Regions from separate parts of the Homo sapiens genome. Here regions 2, 3, 4, 5, 6 and 7 are each linked to region 1. The links are contacts of gene promoters, found by promoter capture Hi-C in blood cells and fetal thymus (Javierre and others, 2016). All regions are on one chromosome and are shown on one strand. Each heading gives the region's core, a stretch centred on a gene start or on the middle of the fragment in contact. The rest is flanking DNA. Distances are from core to core; before and after follow the strand shown. Region 1 holds the start of PLAC8L1 (PLAC8 like 1). Region 2 has its middle 150 kb from the start of PRELID2. Region 3 has its middle 13 kb from the start of GPR151. Region 4 has its middle 130 kb from the start of PRELID2. Region 5 overlaps TCERG1 (transcription elongation regulator 1). Region 6 overlaps TCERG1 (transcription elongation regulator 1). Region 7 overlaps TCERG1 (transcription elongation regulator 1).

Region 1 (3,041 bases), core at 264-2,763:
TAATGTCATTTCACTTTTGTGGAGGTATATCTTCAGAGTAAATTTGTAGAAGTGGGCTTGTGGGTCTGAGGGTAAATGCATATGTAGTTTTGTTAGCACGTATGTGGTCAAAAGCATTTTTTGCCCTGAGGCAGGGGCATGTAGCTGGTGTGCTGAAGGAATAGCAAGGAAGCCACATGAAGAAACAGGTCAAAGTCACTGGCTCAAGATCCTATGTATTAGCAGCAGAGTTGAATTAGAGCCCTGGCCTCCATCTTCATTGCACTTAGACAACAAAGAATTCGTGCATGGAAAACAGGAATGTATTTGACCAAGGCCAGTGTTACCAGGGCCATTAGGAGGTCAGAGAAAGGAGAAGTTTATATGGACCCCAGTCAGGTAGAAAATACTTCACCCCAAAATTTACAGCATCAATAAGATTTGTAATGGCCCTCTGCTGTGCATAGAGCTTGTATTAGTGTGTTTTCTTTTCTTTTTCTTTTTTTTTTTTTTGAGACAGAATCTTGCTCTGTCATCTAGACTGGAGTGCAGTCGAATGATCTTGGCTCACTGCAACCTCTGCCTTCCAGGTTCAAGCGATCCTCTTGCCTCAGCCTCCTGAGTAGCTGGGATTACAGTGCCTGCCACCACGCCTGGCTAATTTTTGTATTTTTAAGTAGAGATGGGGTTTCACCACGTTGGCCAGGCTGGTCTGAAACTCCTGACCTCAGATGATCTGCCCGTCTCAGCCTCCCAAAGTGCTGGGATTACAGGTGTGAGCCACTGCATCTGGCCTAGTGTGTTTTTATACTGCTATAAAAAACTACCTGAGACTGGGTAATTTATTTAAAAAAGAGTTTTAATTGACTCAGTTCCACAGGCTATACAGGAGGCATGGCTGGGGAGGCCTCAGGAACCTACAATCATGGAGGAAGGGTGAAGGGTAATGTTAAAGATACATTTTGATCACTTCTAGGACCTTCTGATGTAAAGGCATATTTGTTAAAATCACACCCAGAGCTTTTATTGTAAGGGTACTTTTTTTTTCTTACACTTTCAGAACTTTCCAATGTAAATATGCATTTTGAGTACTTCTGGAATTTTTCATAGTTAAGGTACATTTTCTCTTTTGCAATTAGAAATATGTGGAATAGTTATATTTTTGCACCTTGAGAATATTTGGTTCCTAATCTTTTTTATCTAATGGTTTTAATGCTTCTGAATTTCCTTCCTGATATGTTGTTATGCTGGGGCTATGCAAAATGGTGATATTCTAATGCTATTATTTCTTTTTCATAAATATTTGGCATTCTTTTATAAAGCACATGCCTTTTCTATTCTTTTCATTTTATTTTTAAATGAAAAAGCTGTGTAGCATGTGGATTAGTCACTTCATACAATAGACGTTTGATTAGAAAAGTTGGGCGCAAATGAAATGTAAAAATATGGAGTCATAGCTTATATGTACCATGGTGGTTTACTCTTCAAAGGAATCTTACTGTAAATCTTTTTTTTTTTTTTTTTTTTTTTTTGCAAAGCTAGTAATCACCTCTTAATTTCTGTTATTCTTATAAACCTGAATTTTCATGTAGGGCACATTTATTCAACAAATTATTGAGTGCTTTTTATGTGCCAGACACTGTGGTCAGCACTTGGAATAGAGTAGTAAGCAGAAAAAACATACCTGTCCTTAATGTAGGGTACATCCTTACTGTTAAGAAGACAATGACAGTTGCCCAGAACCCCATGATTGAAGGCAGTTATGAAGCTATGTCTGAGGAATCTTGATTTGGAAGGTATTATAGGCTTTTCCTAACAACCTGGTTCAATAAATGCTTTGAAGTTCAGAACCCTAAGCAACCATTCTCTATGGGTCTGATGAAAAGAATATATGATATAATTGGCAGTATCCTCCTGATGTCTTTCTAATGTAATGTCAAATTATGATTGCAGAGCCCTTTCCTCAACGTGAAATTTTGCCTAATTTTTTGTCTTAGGATATTTCCTAATATTTCTAGGGTCCACACCTCCATAAGACATGTGCCAGAGGCATGATTCAGAGGCTCCTGAGACCTTGAGGATTCAGAGCTGTTGTGAGGACATCACCAGGCAAGCCTTGCTTCAGTTACTAGATTCCGTCTGGACTGGGTAGGAAAGAAATGCCACTTTCCTGGCATTATCAATGAAGTTAATGGAAGAGCAGAGAATTTCTAGAAGTTCTGAAAAGGCTTTGAGGCTTGTGACAATCTACCATAGCTCAAACTTGAGGAGACCACCTTTCATAAGATGGATTCAAATACAATACCTGCGCTGAAAGACTTTTTTTTGCTCCTGCTTTTGGGTTGGCTATGGGACTTGCATCATCTGGCTGAATTGGACCAGCAGTTCAGGGGATGAAGAGAGGTCTCTGCTGCTTCTCAGTCACATGGCATGGCAGAAATTTTCAGCCTTCTGAATCTTCCAAGGAACGGTCAAGTGGCACTTAGCTAGATAAATGTTTACTAGAGGCATCTCTTAAAGAGTTTTCCACCAAAGATAAGTCTTTTTCTTCTATTTACTCTATACTCCAGCAATATCTCCCTACAGATTAGTAAGATGAATGTGTCCACAGTTAGGTGTATACCTGTTTTTAAAGAAAAAAGATGTCTGTTAGTTACACTGCTATGACCTCAGGTTCCAGAATATTAAGGGAACATTCTTTCAAGAGATGTTTCACTTTGGACTAATCCGAAGTTTAGAAACCAGCTTATTGCCAAAGGGAAAAAGGATAGCCCAAAGGACAAGAAAACACTTCTCACTATGAATTGGTTTGGAAGTAACTTCTTCAGGTGTCCTGAGGATCTTTCCTTACTCAACATATACTCACCTCTGTTGTCACACATGTCATCTGAAGATGAACATTTTATTTCCAACTTGAGGTAGGGAATAGGGTGAGTTTTTCCCCTAGCTTTTGCTCTTTAGTTGGACTATCGAATCAACCTCTACTTATAAGGAACCAGGGAAAAGAAAACTGGGCTTGGGAAGAAAGTGGTTGCTATCTTTTCTCCATGCAAACTTGAAAA
Region 2 (3,041 bases), core at 170-2,669, 420 kb after region 1:
ATCTATGCCAGAGAAGGCTTCTGCAAAGAAGCAATGTCCAAGCTGAGACTTGAAAACATTAGGGTAGAAACTGGGCTCTAGAGAGCAAGAATAACATTTGCAAAGACCTAGCGACTGGAGAGAACATGGCGTATTACATCAGAGAAACCGAAAGTTGTTCAGTATGCCTTATGGAAGAGTGAAAACAGGGAGGTAAGAGGTGGCTTTGGTAATTGAAAGCTTTGGAAGCCTTTGAGGCCATGGGAAGCTACTGAAGCCACATAAGTGGGGAAGTGGTAGGATTAGATTTATATTTCAGAGTAAGAATTCTGACTGCAGTGGAATAAAAGGTTTAGGGGCAAAGCTGAAAACAGAGAGACTAACTGATTCTCTCAATGTATTGGGATAGTGGCAGTCAGGATGGGGACAGGCAGAAGAATGGCAGAAATATTTTGGAAGTAGAAGCAACAAGACTTGATGATTAATTGGATGTGGACAGTGAGGGAGGAAGATAAATCAGAGACCAACAGCCCAACTTTCTTCATATCTGTCTTATACCCCAACCTTGGTCTGGACTTTGAAGCCTCCTTCCATCTTCAGTTTTTCCTAAAGCTGTGACCTCAAATCCTGGCATTGACCTTAGACTCCATGATGACTGTTATTGCCTTAGTGGTGCCAACAGCACCCATGACTACAATCTGTACTCCAAATGCTGGTGCTGGTCATTACCTGCCCCCAGGATTGGTTCATCCATGTGTTTCCTTCCTGAATATACAGCCACAGGATGATAATGGTGGTTAAGAGCAGGGACTTTAAGTGGGATGGATTTAAGTTCAAGTCCCAGCTCTTCACTTACTCTTAGTTTGACCTTTGGCAAGTCACTAAACATCTCTGAACCTCATATTTTCTCATCTGTGAAATAATAACAGAACAACTATGAGGATTAAATGAAAGCATGAATGTGAAGCACAGTGCCTGCACATGGGCAAGCACAAAATGAAAGCTAACCAAAGAGAGGAACAAGGAAACAATAAGAAGAGAGTGATAGGTTTTAGTGGGGTTTTTTTCCTTTCTCTCCCACGACCTACAGTCTGAAACAACACAGGATAACAAAAGCATCCATTTGGATAGAGAGGAAGAGGAAGAATCTCTTTTAGCAGGATTTCATGAAGGAGGTCCACAAAGAAGAGTTTATTCTGATTGCGTAAAAGTTCAGATTGGTTTGTTGAGCCTGGACTAGAACCAAAGCTAGGGCCCAGCCCATCGAGGCTTCTTTCACCCCTGGACTATTGACTCTTTTCATGTCATTTTTCTCCTCTACATACATGTTCTTCCTCATTGTCTTTGTTCAAATCTCAGTCACCATTAACTCTCTTATCCTTCCCCCTCCTGCTCTTCCCCTTTTGTCTCTTTTCACAAGGTAGCTCTAAAGCATCTCTGTATTTGTCCGGTTCCAGGCATGGCAGGATGTAGAAGTTAACATTTGTTGGAGACTGTTTTGCTTCCTGGAATCTCCCCTCTAGAAAACTTTGTGTCGCTCTGCTTACAAACCTGGTATATCCCTGAGTAGAGGCAGTGCTATTAAAACTCAGTAATAATAATAATACCAATAAGCAATGTGCATCAGTGCACTCTGCTGTTCTATACAATCAGCAGCTCGTTCTACTGGCCAGTGACCAAGCAGCCCCCTTTGTGATTGGTCAGCTCCATGCCATACTGGTCGTTATAGGTTGAACTGTGTTCTCCCTCTCTCCTACAATTCATGTGTTGAAGCCCTAAACTCCAGTATCTGAGAGTATCTGTATTTGGAGATAAGGCCTTTTAAGAGTGATAAAGGCAAAATAAGGGCATTAGGGTGGGCCCTAATCCAATGTGACTAGTGTGCTTTTAACAAGAGGAAATGTAGATATGCAGAGAGATACTAGGGATGCATGCACACAGAGGAGAGGCCATGTGAGGACATAGCGAGAAGGTGGCCATCTGAAAGTCTAGGAGAGAGTCCTCAGAAGAAACCAAACATCCTGACATCTTGGTTTTGGACTTCTAGCCTTCAGAACTATGAGAAGATAAAGTTTTATTATTTAAGCCATCCAGTTTGTAGTATTTGGTGCAGTAGCCCTAGCACACCAGTATACTGGTTATGATATTTTTTGGACTATCATGTTCAATAATAACAGTTTTGTTGATTGCTGAATCTATTCTAGGGGTAGTATAGAACACATCATTACATCTTTAGTCACTATCTAGGTATTATCCTTATTTTGCAAATGGGAGAACTCAGGCTTGAAGAAGAAAATGACTTACCTAAAGTCAAAGTCACAGAGCTAGTAAAGGACAAATTCAGGCTCAAATCTAAATCTTTCTGACACCAGTACCTAGGTTCTTAACTGTTCTGTACTACCTAGAAATACTGGTCTTCTCTGACTGCTTTCACCCAATATAAACAATGCTCTGTATTTTTCTCTGTGGCTCTCTGGTCTTTTTTCCCCTTTGGAGCATGAGCTACAATTTAGAATCATAAATTAATTATGTGATTATTTTCTCAATGCCTTCCTCCCCTGCTAGTCCCATGATGTAACACTGTGCTTATAATCATGAAGATGATGTTAGTTTTGGAACCAGCAGTGTTGAAAAGCTTCTTGATTTTTATGCCAAGTGAAAGCCAGCCAGCCCTTTGCATATGGTGAAATGATCAACCTCGATGGTCATTGGCAAGTAACAGGAACCGCTGCTGGGCTCTTTAATTTATACCTTGATATTGTACACATGTGGCCTCAGGAAGGGAGCGTGTCACCTAACCTTCCCACATGGTGAATACCAGCATTTCCCTCCTCATGGCTGCTGTCATGAAGAGCCCTGCCTGGTCTGGCATTCTCGGACTTGTTTTTCCATTTAGAAATGCACTTCAAGGCAGGAAGCTGTGAGCCACTGGGTGCACCCTTGGTGGCTTTTCTCTGCTTTTCCTGACCTTCTACCCTGTTAATACATCTGGGCGAAGTGGCAGCAGCTTATTTCGGATATAATGGAGCCTACAAAAAATGAAGCCAGGTCTGTTATACCAG
Region 3 (3,041 bases), core at 381-2,880, 420 kb before region 1:
GTGCAGTGGCACAATCTCGGCTCACTGCAACCTTCGCCTCCTGGGCTCAAGCAATCCTCCTGCCTCAGCCTCCTGAGTAGCTGGGATTACAGACACACATCACCATGCCCGGCTAATTTTTGTATTTTTTAGTAGAGATGGGATTCCACCATGTTGGCCAGGCTCATCTCAAACTCCTGACCTCAGGTGATCTGCCCACCTCAGCCTCCCAAAGTGCTGGGATTACAGACATGAGCCACCGTGCCTGGCCAAAACCATTTTCTAATAATACTAAAATGTTATTTGCCTTTTTCATTCTCATGAGCGTAGAGTAGAGTTTTCTAGAGGATACATGATATGTGATATTGCAACAGATTGAATGCAAAAGCAGATAAGAGAATCTAGCTCCATTCTGTCAAGCCAGATGTTAATGAGATCTGCAAAAACATAAAACAATTTCACTCTTCTTACTAAATGTTTTTGTTTTAGGAAGTGTAGTTCTTTCTAATGAAAGTATTACTTATATTAACATGTAATGGGTTGGATACTATTGTTTTAAAATCAGTTAATATTTTAAATTTTCCTCAGCTTTAGGTTCTAATAAGGTAAATATTAATACATATAACTCACATAAACAAAAGCTCTTTGGGATCCTCAATAATTTTTAAGAGTGTAAAGGGGTCCAAAGGCCAAAATATTTGAGAACCACAATTTTAAACAGTTTTTCTTGTTCTTTTCTAGATTATGCAAGCTCTCTGAAAATTGATTTCATTAGAAAGCATCCTTTCTGCGATAATCAATAATCCAAATAGTGGGTCCGGGGTTCAGAATTCAGCCCTCCAAACTACTACTCCCAGCAGGCCTCAATATCCTGCCTCCACTTGCCAAAGCCACAGTCTTTAGTTCTTCAGTTGAGATAGTCCATTCCAATATACTTGCTCAAACACCATGCTTTATAGTGATTATAATAACCAAAAGTGAAACAGGAGAACTCCCCAACCCCTCTTGCAGGACATGTGACAGGGGTGTGGCTTGTGGGCTCAAATCCCTTACAGGAGGGGAAGCACACAGATCGGCAGGTGCAGGAGCCAGAGTGAGTGCCCCTGGGCTCTGGCCCCATGGTAGCATCTAGGGGTGGGTGACTGCAACTCCCAAAGCCCAAGTGGGCCTGGCTTTTGTTACAGTTTAGCCTTGCCATCCATGGACGGCTTAAGTGTTAAACAGCTCAGTGCCTCTTGGTACCCAGGTCCTTGTCTGGCATCCAGGAAGAATCAGGTCGCACATGGACTTGCAGGATGAATGTGGAAGTTTTACTGAATGGTGAAGGTGGCTCTCATTGGGATGGATGGGGAACTGGAAGGGGGATGGAGTGGGAAGATGATCTTCCCCTGACGTTTGGCCATCCAGCGGCTGATCTCCTCTCTGACCGTCCCCGGCCAAACTCCTCTCAGTGTTCAGACATTCCTTCTCTTTTCTCTTGCACGCTGTTCTGCCATTCCCCTGTTCATCTCCTCATCTGCTTGTGGAGCCTGGAGTTTGGGGTTTATATGGGTACAGGATGGGGTGGGGTGTGGCAGGCCAAAAGGCAACTTTTGGGCACAAAATCAGGAATGCCTGTTCCCATTAAGGTTGCAGGTTTCCATGCTTGAGAGTGAGGTGTTTGCCAGGGAACTGCCCTCTTCTACCCAGTATTCGCCTGTCTCCTGTCTGTTTCAAAAATGTCAGTTTTTAACAGTTGATGAGCGCGTACCATTTGGCAGGTGTTTATCCTTCGTGATCTCACTAATGAATTCATGAACGGTGCTTCAGCATTGCCTGAAATGTGGTAAACCCTCATTAAACATTAGCAATGATGGTGATGGCAGTGGTGATGGTGGCCTTACAAGAATCCCATGAGAAATGTATTAATATCATTCCTCACTTGTAGCTGAGGAAACTGAGGCCCAAAAATGTAACTTCCCAAATAGAGTGTGTAAATTCCCACACTCTAGTCAGTGGCAGAGCTGGGATTCCAACCCAATAAGTCTAAGGTCCATGTGCCAAACACTTCCGCTCTGCTGTGCACCAGAGAATCTCACACTTTGCCAGGGAGATGAATCGGCTGAAGTTTTTGTGAAATTCAGATTCTGATTCAGGAGGTCTTGGGTGGGGCCTGGGATTCTGCATTTCTAACAAGTGTCCAAGCAGTGCGGACGCCACTGGTTCTGAAACCACAATTTAGGAGAGGGTTGTACACCTCCTCTCTCACAGACATCCTGAATCATTTTTTATCTATGTGTTCATTTTCCTCTGCCTATAATACTCAAATATGCTTATGCTAATTAAAAATATTTTCCATTTTTTTTTTTTTTTTGAGATGGAGTCTCGCTCTGCCGCCCAGGCTGGAGTGCAGTGGCGCTATCTTGGCTCACTCCCAGGTTCACACCATTCTCCTGCCTCAGCCTCCCGAGTAGCTGGGACTACAGGCACCCGCCACCATGCCTGACTAATTTTTTGTATTTTTAGTAGAGAAGGGGTTTGACCGTGTTAGCCAGGATGGTCTCGATCTCCTGATCTCATGATCCACCCACCTCAGCCTCCCAAAGTGCTGGGATTACAGGAAAAATATTTTTCAATAGCTCCATCCATGTCCCATTCAATTACAGTCCCTAGCTTTCTCTCAACCTCTACTTTTATATGCTACTCACTGTGACCACAAACTGCCCTCCGAACACCAAATTCAGTTTTTCTCCATCAGCTGAACAATCAGCATTTTCAGTTATCACAAGGGGGCAGTGCCCACTAATCAACGGTTCAGACTCGGCAGCAGCATCTCAGTAGAGCTGTGGAATTGTGCAATTACATGAACATATTATTTTAAATGACTAGAAATGAGGAAAATACAAATAAATGAGAATGCAAAGTTATACATACTGTATGAGCACTAATGAGGATTTGGGGCTGAATGGATCCCTCGTTTTATTCATGATAATTGTCATATTCCTTGCAAATGCACAAAACATTGGCAGTCATTAATTATGCATATGTCTGACACTTGAAAGTTTGCAGACATCTTCAACTAC
Region 4 (3,041 bases), core at 203-2,702, 400 kb after region 1:
GTCTCACATCTTGTGTGTAATGCCAGCAACTAAATCTCCAAGCTCGATTAGCAATGGTTACAGCCCAGTGAGCTCACATCCAGAAACCCCCTTGAAATGATGTTTCATCAGGGAGAACTTTAACCACAAAACCTGCTTCTGAACCAACTGAGGAAGACACCTCAGGTACTGTGACTCTAATTCTGGGGCAGTTGTTGAATAAAATATGCCATGACTTTATGGATTTATTTTCTCTCTAAGTTGCATGAGTAAAATGAGTCTTGTGATTTTGTAAAACGTAGCTGTGAAAGAGACCTGAAAATTTGAGACTTGCTGGGAAGAGTTCTTTATGCACTCAGGTGTGGAGGACAGGTGCAGGGGAAATTTGTTGTGTGATGCTCCAGTACCCATTCCTGTCTTCTCCCTTTCTCCCTCTAACTATATCTTGAACATCTCTCTTTTCTATATGATTTTGGTGTGGAGTTGATCTGTCACAAAGTTCAAGGATTAGACTGTAATGGACCTAAGCCAATTTATATCTTCTTTCCCTAGCTGCAGTTATTAGTTTGGGTTTAGTCAAATGTCCCATTTCAAGACAATGAAAGGGATCCCAAGACCTGGCTATGTGCTGTTGGAACTGACATTTTCTTTTCCCTGGAGCATTTAGGGTTAGCATGTGTGGCTTGAAACTGGGGCAGCTATTTGGTTGTCATAAGAGTAAAGCTGAAGCTACTGTGTGTATTTGGGGCATGTCTACCACATGGAATCTGATGATGGAACAATCCCTATGGAAGGGAGAGCTAAGAGACAGAAGGAAGATGAGACATCAAGGGTATTTGGTAATAATGTCTAAACTGCTGAATCAACGAAGTTCACTTAAAGCCCACTCTGACTCTGGATCAATTGCTTAAGGCATTTCAGCTGAGTTTTAAACACTTTGCATAAAAATTCCTATCTGATACAATTAATATTACTAACTCTCTGCTCTGAATAGATTGTGTTTGCTTGGTAATTTGTCTGGCTTCTTCCAAAGACTTAGTATACTTGACACTTGATGGCCAATGGGTGCTGCACAGACCAGTAAATGGTGAATCTAGCTTCCAACTTGGACCCAGCTTTCTGTTTGCATGTCTAGTGTGCATTTTTGTTAGGGTTGAGAGTTGAGTAATTGCTTTATTTGATAGTATTTGCTGTGTTTTAATAGAAAGGGAAATAATTATATATCAATCTGCTAAATGACTTTCTTTCCTCCTTAAGATCTACCTTTAACATTTTTTTCTAGTGATTGTGGAACTCAAGCCCACATAGAAGTGGTATCTTCTCTGACTTTTGGCTGCTGAAGTTTTATTAGGGGTGCCCTGGTAGGTAGGGAGTCTTGATTAGTCTGTATCACTTAAGATAATTCCTTTCCCTATGTGCTTCTTGGTTTAGAAGCAGCCAAATTTTTGTGACCTCATTTTGGCCAATTGACACAAAACATGAATTGGAAGTCTGCTGGGCATGGGGGTGCTTCAGGCAAGTTTCTTAACTAGTTAGAGAACAGAAGACCCGAATGTCATTGAATTGCTTTACCTCTTGCCTTCTTGTGTGAGATTTTAAGCTAGCTGTCAGAGTTTTTTTCTTTCTTTCTTAATTTATGTCAAAGAAAGCATCCTGATGCATTTTGCAAGGACCACATGAAGTAGGGAATTGTTGATTTCCCCAAGGAGGGATCCAAGAGCCAAAATAAGAAAAAAGAAACAGAGAAAAGAAAAACACATTTAACCCATCTACTATAGTTCCTTTACTTTTATCTTGATGTCCTATTTCTCTGTGCATGATTCTACCTTCAGACACAGATGAGACAAGGAGTGGTCTGTGTGATGACTAGATTTGAAGGGCTGTTTTGTGCAAAGTAGTGGTGCTTGAACACCATACTCAGATGATCATAAATTTGCTAGCTCACTCTCATACATACTTATGAAAATATCCTTTTTATAAGTGTTTATAGGGATGGCATTAAAAATACTTAAGCATTACAGTAATACGCTAATGTATAAATCAATATATTAATAAAAACATTAAATATATATATATGTGTGTGTGTGTATATATATATTTTTTTTTTTCCTGAGACAGAGTTTTGCTCATTGCCCAGACTGGAGTGCAATGGCATGATCTCAGCTCACCACAACCTCCACCTCCCAGGTTTAAGCATTTCTCCTGTCTTGGCCTCCCGAGTACCTGGGATTACAGGCATGTGCCACCACGCCCGGCTAATTTTGTATTTTTAGTAGAGACAGGGTTTCACCACATTGGTCAGGCTGGTCTTGAACTCCTGACCTCAGGTGATCTGCCCACCTTGGCCTCCCAAAGTGCTGGGATTACAGGGGTGAGCCACTGCGCCCGGCCTTCAATGTATATTTTATAATTCTCTAATCTAAATTATTAAACTGCTTACCAAGTGATACAAGCTGAAATGCACATAGTTCATTAAAAAGATAATGATTTACAGGTCATTTATTGATTTTTAGAAATTGTTGCTGTGATTTGTTGATGGCATAGTTGTCAAATGCTAAGTGACACCTTGTGGTTTGACACAGGGAATTACATCAAACTCCTCCACCAACCTCTTTGCTCATTTGTTGGTCGATAGTCATTAGGAGACTTGCATTCTCAAAAAATAGAGAATTTCTTTTTAAAATCAATACTATTGTTCAGGGTCCTGAGGCCTTTTTCAGCTTCTGCTGAACTAAGCAATTACATTAATTTTTTTCTAGATTTTATAATGTTGTCTAAAATTTTTATATGGTCAAATTCTCTCTTATCAACTATGCCATGAAAATCATTTACTGGAATGTCATTTTTAATTAAGTTGAAAGTATACTTTGGGTCAAATGAGAGGCAGTGCAGTCGGTGTGAAGGTTAAGCATGCTTCCTCTGTTGCCAAGGTGCCTGGGTTTGGATTCAGACTCTGTCACCTACATTTTAAATAATCTCTTTGTTCCTCAGTTTCTTAGTCTGTGAAATGGGGAGAATCACAGTAATTATAGGACTCTCAAAAAGTACTCTTCTCTCTTGGA
Region 5 (3,041 bases), core at 172-2,671, 400 kb before region 1:
TCAGTTTACGCCTCTCCTCTGGCACACAGTCCAGTACTAGATACCGTTTGTCATTCTGTAAAATTTTTTCTACATCTTTCAGGTGCTGATCTGATTCTTGGATTAATTTTTTGGATCTGAAATAAGAAAAAGAAGTCCAAGAATTACTGACTGCTGTTCACAGGTCTTTCAGAAATGAGCTGGAAATGTCCATCTAGTTCCTAATTGTGTTTCCATTTTTTTTTTTTTTTTTTTTTTTAAGAAAAATTTCACGGCAGTGGTCACCTTTGTAAGTCGCCTCAGCAAAGACTCCAAGGAGTGAAAGGGCCTCAGAAGCTGAATTACCCTCCCACCCCTAGTGGTGGTCCCTCCAGATCAGGGCTGAGGGTGGGTGGGTAAATCTTGCCCGTGCTGTACCTGTTCTGTGGATGAACAGAGGACTTCAGTCTGCGGGGCTGCCAATCCCAGCATCTTTCACAAGCTTTCACTTTCACATCTTTCACTAAATTAACTATAAAAATGTAGAAAGAAGTCTTACTTCACATCTAATTTAAAAGCCCAAGCTGATGCAAAACATTAAGGATCCTGACCAAAAAATCCAAATGACAAAATATCTAAAAACCACACCCTCAGCACTATCTAGCCTCCCGTGCACATACCCTTTATTAAGATGTTTCAAATTTCTCTCTTAAAGAAGAAAAGCTGGAGCATGAAACAAAAATGGTTTCCTGCATACTGACTGGTAAGCAATGCGAAATTGTTTTCCTGATGATAAATTGTTAGGGGTGAAGAACTGTTGGGTTTGCTACAGAGAAATCTTGTTTAAAGGCTCTGATTTCATAATTTACAATTTTTATTTAAATGTACCCAGCAAAATGCTTTCCTCTGAGGGAAAAAAAAATGTTTATGCTGAGCTTAAATAGATGATTTCATGCTTTAGAATGATCTAACCACACTGAATAGTCTTCAGAGGAGGCAAAGATAACTGATAGTGAAAGATTATTTTAAAAGTCTCTTCATGAAATACAATTCTTATATAGTTGAGGGTATTCCTAAAAAAAGCGGTGAAGTAAAAAAAAAAAAAAGGTATGTATTCAAAACTGGATGGGTGGGTAACACAAAATAAGAATTGACATCTGGGCCCTTTCTTTAAAAAAAAAAAAAAGTATGGTAGATATGGGCTGTATTTGACTTTGGACAGAAGTTGGTATCTTCTTATCCCTAAAAATTAATAATGTCAACATGTGTGTGAATGCAAAGAATGCTCTGACCATTAGAGTAAAGACTAGTAAAGAGAATGACTGCCAATATGAAACATTTCATTGCACACACCTATATGTTATAAATTTGGTCTCTTTCAAAAGCGTCCTGAAGTCAGCTTTGGCTGTGATATATTTGTCTCTGATATATTCTTCAAATTCTCTTTGTTTTTTCTGTTAATAAAAAAAAAAAAGTTGAGATTATGGAAATAAAACCCACTAATTCCAAAATAAACATCAATTATTTATTAAACAGTAATGTGTAAGTCACATAATAAAATTTAAAATTCAAAAGAAAAAGGCAACAGGGTACATTTTGTTCATATATAAAATTCATTAAATCACAATTTGCAAGGCTCATTTTTGCGGCAAATAGAAAGAATGAGGAATCATAAATTAGTAGTGGCTAAAACTTGAGAACTTGCTATGTGCTACACTGCTGAGCATTTTATGAGGATCATCTACTTCAATCTTCACAACAACCTCATGAGGTGGACACTTAAAAATAAGGATATTAAGGATTAAGTGTTCACTTCCTGCACACTGTATTTTTAACTTCAAGAACAAAAAGAGTAATTTGTGGATACAGCAACTGTAGGTTAACACTCAATACTTAACTTACACAGTAATGAGCATTTAGCTTTCTGGCAAGCCAAAAGTAATAAGATGAATAAACTCTTTGGACTTAAAAAAGACTTTATTATCAATTCTAAACAGTCAGAAAAGTTAGAAACTGAGACTGGGTCTACCCCTCTTTCCCAGTCATGCATATTTTATGGTCCAAACATCTACAATCCAATAGACTTTGAGGGGGAAGAATATTAGATTTATGAGTTTTTATAAAAGATGCCCAGACCTACAGAAACCAACCAGGAAAGGGGAATGATGTAAAAGAAAACAAATAAAAGGCCTAGGGATAAAATGGACTGTAGTAAACAACACTTTTCTTGACATCATTCACTGTTTCAGACCTTGAAGCATATGAGAACTAGCGATCTCATTACAGGGCTCTGTTTGGCTTAAGAGTCAAGTGCTTTGATAGTTTGGTACCAATTGCCAGCCTAAATATGTCTGTCTAGTGGTACCTGACTAAAATAAAACTGCAGCTTCATTAAATTTCTAAGATCCTAAAATACAAGCTTCACCCCAAGTACTAAAATTTTAAACTTTCTATTGTGCTGTCTTGCTAATTTATCATGCAAGAAACAATACATAAACTTAAAATTCAGATTTACTTCTCATACACTTAAAAGTAATTCACTTAAAACAATCAACTTCATTTTGGTTAAGATAGTAGTGCTGTTAGGCCCCGATTTAAGTATTTATAGACTGACAGTAAATCTCGACACAAAATCCTCTTACCCTGTCACTGGAGGAGAACTTAATACATCGAGGATCTTCCTTAATGATTTTTTTTACTTCTTTCCACGTGGATGTTAAGGTAATCTTTGAAAAGACATGAATAAAAAACATAAATACAACTCACTTTTACTTAGGGAGTCAAACTGCAGCACATAGGTACATAATATTACACACTGACCTGCGATCTCTTGTAATGCCCAAGCGTAACTGGACTAGTTAGGGACAGGGAAGCAGCGTTAATGCAATTTCTTTTTGTTGGCTTGCCACAAGAGTTATTTTCATGGCCATACTTTCAAGGTGGCCTAAGACAATCACCTGCAAACCCTGTATTTACATGGGCAAACATCATAACTTCTGAAGAAACCATCACCAAAAAGAGAGCAAATAAAAAGGAACAAAACCTGGATAACAAAGCGTACAAACTGCCGAACAAGAGGCCAT
Region 6 (3,041 bases), core at 346-2,845, 380 kb before region 1:
ACAGGAAAGAGAAAAAGTTGAAGAACCAATCCATGAAGGCAAATTCAAATTCTGTCCCAGAATGAAAAAACAGAGAAAACTGGAAACAAATTTTTTAAAGTAACACAAGAGAATTTCCCGTAACTAAAAGAGCTGAGTTTCCACACTGAAAAGGTCAGCCAAGTACTGAGCACAATAGACCCTTCCTCTAGGAAAAATACCACTATGGCATTTCAGAATACTAGGGACTAAGAGAGCTACATACTTATAGAGAAAGAAAAACAGATTCACATATAAAGGAATAGGAATGGCTTCAAAAACAACGAACACTAGAAGCAGAGCAATGCCTTTAGCTAGCCAAACAATTCCAAATAAGGGTACAATAAGGGTTTTTCCAAGTATGTTAGGCCTCAAATAAACTTTCCCTGCACATTCTCTCAAGAAGCTACAAAAAGGAAAAGACTTACTATGTAGGGAACAGCTCTATGAACATCTTTATAACAAGTACAACAAAATGTTCCAAAATACCTTCGACATCTTCCCAAGTCAATCCACATATGTCTACCAATCTTCATCCACTGGGTGTCTTGGAACATATCCTCCACAGATAAGGAGGGACTACCATATCTGTGATTACCTGACCAGTCCCCTGCTAGACATGTAAGTCATCTTCAATTTCCTCTAAGTATAGCATTGCAGAAAACCTTTTGAAAGTATTTGCATGCTGAAGAGAGGGAGAAAGTTGTTTCCAACTCCCTTCTCAGTATATACTTACTTATAAATAAAATATTAAATGATACCTAAAATTCAAGGGAATTTGTATTAACTTTCCTTTGAGAATCTAGAAAGAACTTCGTATTCCCTCTGCTGGGCTACCCCAGACCAAGGTTAGGAATCACTCTCTAAGATTAATATCTCATAGAAAATTAGGGGTTGTGTTATGCTTCCAAGTTGCTCCTAATTTGTGTCATGCTTTCCAATACGCTTGGCTTTATGTTCCCTATGTTAAGTGGTTATTTTCTGATAACTTCAACTCATGAACAAAATTTCATAATACAATGAAAATGAGTAAATTTTAAAAATAATTCTGTTAAGTTCACTTTTATAGGCATGAACAAAAATGTATATTAAGGGGCTATACCCTTTAAGCCTTCAAGGCAGCTCTGGAGTGCTTGGAATGTTCCATTTTTTGGATCATGATATATTCATTTTGTGAAATTTCACTTATGATTTTATCTTTTCTGTTTCAAAATACATTTACTAAAAGTAAGTCTCCATTATTTGATTCTCATATTTTTAATTTCACACTGATTCAATGACAAATTATTCAGTAACAGTGGCCCAGATGGTTGACAATTCCGAGTAATCATGTTGGTAACATATTACCATACTGTAATACTGTCAATATTAAAAAGCTCTGAATAACAAATGAGATATTTAAAAGTTTATTTTGGTGTTTTCTCTTAGAGTTCAAGGGCAGGGATTTTTTTAATTGACAAATAATAATTGTACATATTCATGGGGTTACTGTGTTTCAATACATGTGCAATCGAAATGTGTTTAAATACATATCATGTAGTGATGAGATCAAGGTAATTAGCATATCAATCTCAAACATTTATCATTTGTGTTGGAAAAACGTTTAATATCCTCCTTCTGGCTACTCGAAACTACTTACTATTGTTAACCAGTCATCCTACAGGGCTACACAACGCCAGGACTTAATCTTCCTATCCAGTTTTAATTATGTATCCTTTAACAAATCTCTTCCTATCCTCCCAAGTTCTCCCTACCCCTCTCAGCCTTCAGTAGCCTCTGTTCTACTTTTGACTTCTATGACATCAACTTTCTTTTGCTTCCACATGTGTGAAAACATAAGATGTTTATCTTTCTGTTCTTGGCTTATTTCACTTAACATGACTTCCAGTTCCATCGATGTTGCTGCAAATGACAGGATTTCATTCTTTTTTATGGCTAACCACATTTTCTTTATCCAGTCATCTGTTGTTGGACACCTAGGTTGATTCTGTATCTTGGTTACTGTGAACAGTGCTACAGTAAACATTAGGGTACAGATATCTCTTCAATATAATGATGTCTTTTCCTTTCAATACATACCTGATAGGGGGATTGCTGGATCATATCGTTGTTCTGTTTTTAGTTTTTCGAGGAACCTCCATACTGTTTTCCATAGTGGATATACTAGTTTAAATTCTAACCAACAGTATATAAAGAGTTCCCTTTTCTGAGTATCCTTGCCAGTATTCGTTATTTCTTCCTCTTTTATGTAAGTCATCCTAACTGAGTGAGACACCTCACTGCTGTTTTGATTTGCATTTCCCCAATGATTAGTGATGTTGAGCATTTTTTCATATATTTATTGGCCATTTGTATGTTTTGAGAAATGTCTGTTCAGATCATCTGCCCATTTGTTAGTAAGATCTGTTTTTTTCTGTTGGGATGACTGAGTTCCTTGTACATTTTGGACATTTAATTCCCTATCAAATAAGTAGTTAGCAAATATTTTCTCCCATTCTGTAGGATGTCTTCACTGTTGTTTCCCTTGCTATGGAGAACTGTTTTAATTTGATGTAACCCCATTTGTTTATTCTTGCTTGTGCTTTTGAGGTCTTATTTGTAAAATCTTTTCCCAGTCAATGTCTGGAATTATTTCCTCTATGGTTTTTTTCTAGTAGTTTTATCATTTCAGGTCATATATGTAGGTCTTTGATCTATTTTGAGTTGATTTTCAGATAGGCTAAGAGGTGGGGTTCTAATTTCATTTCTTCTGCATATAGATTTCCAGTTTTCCCAGCATCATTTATTGAAGAGACTGTTCTTGCCACAGTGAGTGTTCTTGGCACCTTTGTCAAAATAAGTTGCCTATAGATATATGGATTAATTTCTGAGTTCCCTATTCTGTTCCTTTGGTCTATGTGTCTGTTTTTATGCCAGTACCGTACTGTTTTAGTTACTACAGCTCTCTAGCATATTTTGAAGTCTGGTACTACGATACGTCCAGCTTTGTTCTTTTTGCTTAGGATTGCTTTGGCTATTTTAAG
Region 7 (3,041 bases), core at 263-2,762, 360 kb before region 1:
AGCTTAGTTGGTACTCTATAAAAATTAAAAATAGTAACAATAAACTATTTTCCCCACTAAAGGACAGGAAAAAAATTTCTCCTACCTCTGAGACTAAAAGTAAAATTAAACTCCTGGGTTTGTATACAATTTAACTATGTTCACACAAGCAAACAAAAATAGTGTCAATTATTGAAAAGTACCTTTATTTCTTAATTACTATTTTATATAAAGAATAAAGTAAACTTTCTATTAACTTTTAAACTAAAATAAAAACATTGGATCATGAAAGCATGTTGAATAAAGTTATATGTATAATTTTATTTTCCCTAATGTTGAAAGAAAGCAATGGAAAAATTCATTTGGTTAAGGAAGTTACAGCATGGATTAAGTTTAATCAGTATAAATACTGCCATCTGCAGGAGCACTGAACCTACTAAACTCAGCACAGGAAATTCAATTCTTATGAATATACGAACTTTACTCTCAAAGACTGTTCTCCAAAACCATCTTCCAATAAATAATTTTAACTATACAACTTATGCAGAAGAAAATCAAATCTATTCATACATAGGCTTAACCACCATTATTAAAAATCAGTTGGGCTCGCAGAACTCTTCTATTTGACTATCAACATACAGACCATATAGAAAGGTCCTGTGTTTCTTCTCATGCTAAAAAGATACACTGAAGTTTCTCTCAAAGTGATTACATGCAGATTGTGAATACTCGCAAAATAAAAATCTAAATTTTTAACCTTTTTTTTTAGAGGGAGCTTTTGTTCAATTTTCCTACAACTCTGTCCTCAAATTATTATCTAAGAAATAAGAAAATTCCACTCAGCATTTTGGATGATTCCAATGTCACAGACAGTTAAGTTTCTTAAAATTCCAGATAAGATTTTATAGTTTTAGAAGTAGAACTCCTATAATCCTAGACCCATTTATCCAAACTCCACCCCCTACTCTTGTATTTTACCTAATTCTTCCACTCCTTCCCTTTATCTTGTTTGACCATCCGTTCCTCAATCATCCTCATTAGACCCATACAATACTATTTCAAAGAGAAATTAAGCCTCCAAGACAAATTACATACAAATCCTTCCCATTCACCTTATTGCTGAATTGAATTAAAAGGCAAAAACCAGGAGACACAAATCTCATTGTTTGTAAAACCAAAGATTTGGGGAAGAAAAAAACAAGTCTTCTTTGTCCTTGTTTTTTACTAAACACCTTGTAGGACTGAGTTAAAAGGGAAAATGAGAAAAGTGAACAAATATCAATACCAAAAAGTCTTAATAAACAAACTAATATTTGATGCTAATATATCTTTTTTTTTTTTTTTTTTGAGACAGAGTTTCGCTCTTGTTGCCCAGGCTGCAGTGCAATGGCGCGATCTCGGCTCACTGCAACCTCCACCTCCCAGGTTCAAGAAATTCTCCTGCCTCAGCCTCCCGAGTAGCTGGGCATGCACCACCACGCCCGGCTAATTTTGTATTTTTAGTAGAGATGGGGTTTCTCCATGTTGAGGCTAGTCTCGAACTCCTGACCTCAGCTGATCCACCCACCTCGGCCTCCCAAAGTGCTGGGATTACAGGCGTAAGCCACCGTGCCCAGCCTAATATATCACTTTGTATGACACTCACTCTCTCCAAAGAAATCTTAGACTATCCAATTCAAGTTCTCTTCCAACTGACCCCCAAAATGTCACTAATGGCTACTGTTTATTGAATGACTTCTACTGCCAAACTTCACAGGTACTGCTTCATTTGGTGACTCAAATGGTCACCACCACCTGTCCAAATCTTTTTAATGATGGAGCAAGGATATGCTTGCTCCATATGACATCAAAATATGTCATCATATTTTGGGGAAAATATGACATCAAAATGAAGCTAGAGCCAGAGGGATTTTATTGTGAGAAACTTCTACTTTCTATAGAAATACATTTTGCTATTGTGTACCTTTCATCCATTAGTCCTAATAAGAACCTCTAAAGAAAAGCAAAAGTTGTTCAAATGACAGCCTTTCAAAATACTTCAACAACATTATCATGCTACCTCTCAATCTTCCCTCTACAAAATGAGCAACCCCAACTCCTTGAGATCACTCAGAATCCACGATCTGGTCTTAATACTGTCCTTAACCCTAAAGCAGACCAAAATTACAAAAAGAGGTTGTGACAAATATCAGGCTATTCTCCATCTATGATTTAGTTTTCCCAGAAAAATTACACATAGAGAAAAGTATCCAGCTGCTTGTCTTAAATTTAATCTAGAAAAGGGATAATCCCTAATAGTAGGGAAAACATCTTTTGTTTTCTTTTTAAATGATTTGAATTTCTTAAACACCACATAATGGGCATTTAATTATCTAACACTACATCAACAATGTATACAAGGTTTTCCAAATTAAAAAAAAAACCTGAAATTTTTGGTTTCTTTCTTGACAAGGTATATCTGAAGGTGTCCTTTTCAGAGTGGTCACAAAGAAAAAGACAACCAGTGCAATAGTGATAATTAAGATGTGTGCAAATCTAAGAAATAGCTGTATCACAACTGTATTCTTACACAGAAAGGAGTATAAGAAAGTAGCAATAAGTGGATGGAATGTGAACTTGAGAGACAAGAGGCCTAAGTTCTATTCATCTTTGCTACAAACTAGCCCTGTGAACCTGACCTCTCTAAGGTACCAATACTTTCAACTATAACACAAGGAGAATGAACCATGGATCAAGGATTAAATGTGTTTGACAAAAACTAATGCATTCAAATTTGGAATGCCCAACACTATCATTTTTAAACCCTATGGTAAGAATTCCACTCCACAATATTTCTTAATTCTTTCTCTAGTTTTAATGACTTCTCTTAAGACAATATAACACATTAATTCACCATAACAATTTAAACTTTTAAATGATGCACATTATGCTTTACTTCATAATTGTTACAAGGGAACCTTCTAGTTCCTGTTTTATATGAATTGTTTTATAGTTAAATCACTCACATTTTCTTCCCAGTATTAACATAGTTATTAAAAGCTTACTATCTGGATGTGGAGGGC

What was found. The method cuts DNA at HindIII sites, captures the fragments that hold promoters and counts their contacts. A CHiCAGO score of 5 or more calls a contact.
Region 2: a fragment that was not itself captured here is called in contact with the fragment with the promoter of PLAC8L1 in region 1 in 3 of 17 cell types (erythroblasts, megakaryocytes and M0 macrophages); the score reaches 8.4 in erythroblasts.
Region 3: a fragment that was not itself captured here is called in contact with the fragment with the promoter of PLAC8L1 in region 1 in 3 of 17 cell types (non-activated CD4 T cells, total B cells and naive CD8 T cells); the score reaches 6.0 in non-activated CD4 T cells.
Region 4: a fragment that was not itself captured here is called in contact with the fragment with the promoter of PLAC8L1 in region 1 in 1 of 17 cell types (erythroblasts); the score reaches 7.5 in erythroblasts.
Region 5: a contact is called between a fragment that was not itself captured here and the fragment with the promoter of PLAC8L1 in region 1, in 3 of 17 cell types (naive B cells, activated CD4 T cells and non-activated CD4 T cells). The highest score is 5.7, in naive B cells.
Region 6: a fragment that was not itself captured here is called in contact with the fragment with the promoter of PLAC8L1 in region 1 in 2 of 17 cell types (activated CD4 T cells and non-activated CD4 T cells); the score reaches 6.9 in activated CD4 T cells.
Region 7: a fragment that was not itself captured here is called in contact with the fragment with the promoter of PLAC8L1 in region 1 in 7 of 17 cell types (non-activated CD4 T cells, monocytes, activated CD4 T cells and 4 more); the score reaches 7.6 in non-activated CD4 T cells.

The regions. Positions count from the first base shown.
Region 1 is chr5:146,104,049-146,107,089 of GRCh38, reverse strand. It overlaps PLAC8L1 (PLAC8 like 1), which reads left to right and starts at 1,513. Exons shown (of 4, transcript NM_001029869.3): 1 at 1,513-2,897. The coding sequence starts at 2,779. The HindIII fragment of the contact is 7,482 bases long and covers 1-3,041 here.
Region 2 is chr5:145,682,443-145,685,483 of GRCh38, reverse strand. It overlaps a transcript of PRELID2 not described here. Among named protein-coding and RNA genes, the nearest start is that of PRELID2, 150 kb to the left of the region's middle. The HindIII fragment of the contact is 2,395 bases long and covers 222-2,616 here.
Region 3 is chr5:146,528,159-146,531,199 of GRCh38, reverse strand. No RefSeq gene overlaps it. Among named protein-coding and RNA genes, the nearest start is that of GPR151, 13 kb to the right of the region's middle. The HindIII fragment of the contact is 4,804 bases long and covers 1-3,041 here.
Region 4 is chr5:145,701,099-145,704,139 of GRCh38, reverse strand. It overlaps a transcript of PRELID2 not described here. Among named protein-coding and RNA genes, the nearest start is that of PRELID2, 130 kb to the left of the region's middle. The HindIII fragment of the contact is 9,480 bases long and covers 1-3,041 here.
Region 5 is chr5:146,507,516-146,510,556 of GRCh38, reverse strand. TCERG1 (transcription elongation regulator 1) reads right to left here. Exons shown (of 23, transcript NM_001382548.1): 21 at 2,601-2,684; 22 at 1,312-1,412; 23 at 1-116. Among named protein-coding and RNA genes, the nearest start is that of GPR151, 7.2 kb to the left of the region's middle. The HindIII fragment of the contact is 1,917 bases long and covers 463-2,379 here.
Region 6 is chr5:146,487,779-146,490,819 of GRCh38, reverse strand. All of the region lies in intron 15 of TCERG1 (transcription elongation regulator 1), which reads right to left. Among named protein-coding and RNA genes, the nearest start is that of GPR151, 27 kb to the left of the region's middle. The HindIII fragment of the contact is 5,317 bases long and covers 1-3,041 here.
Region 7 is chr5:146,464,306-146,467,346 of GRCh38, reverse strand. The region is part of intron 5 of TCERG1 (transcription elongation regulator 1); the gene reads right to left. Among named protein-coding and RNA genes, the nearest start is that of TCERG1, 18 kb to the right of the region's middle. The HindIII fragment of the contact is 3,016 bases long and covers 5-3,020 here.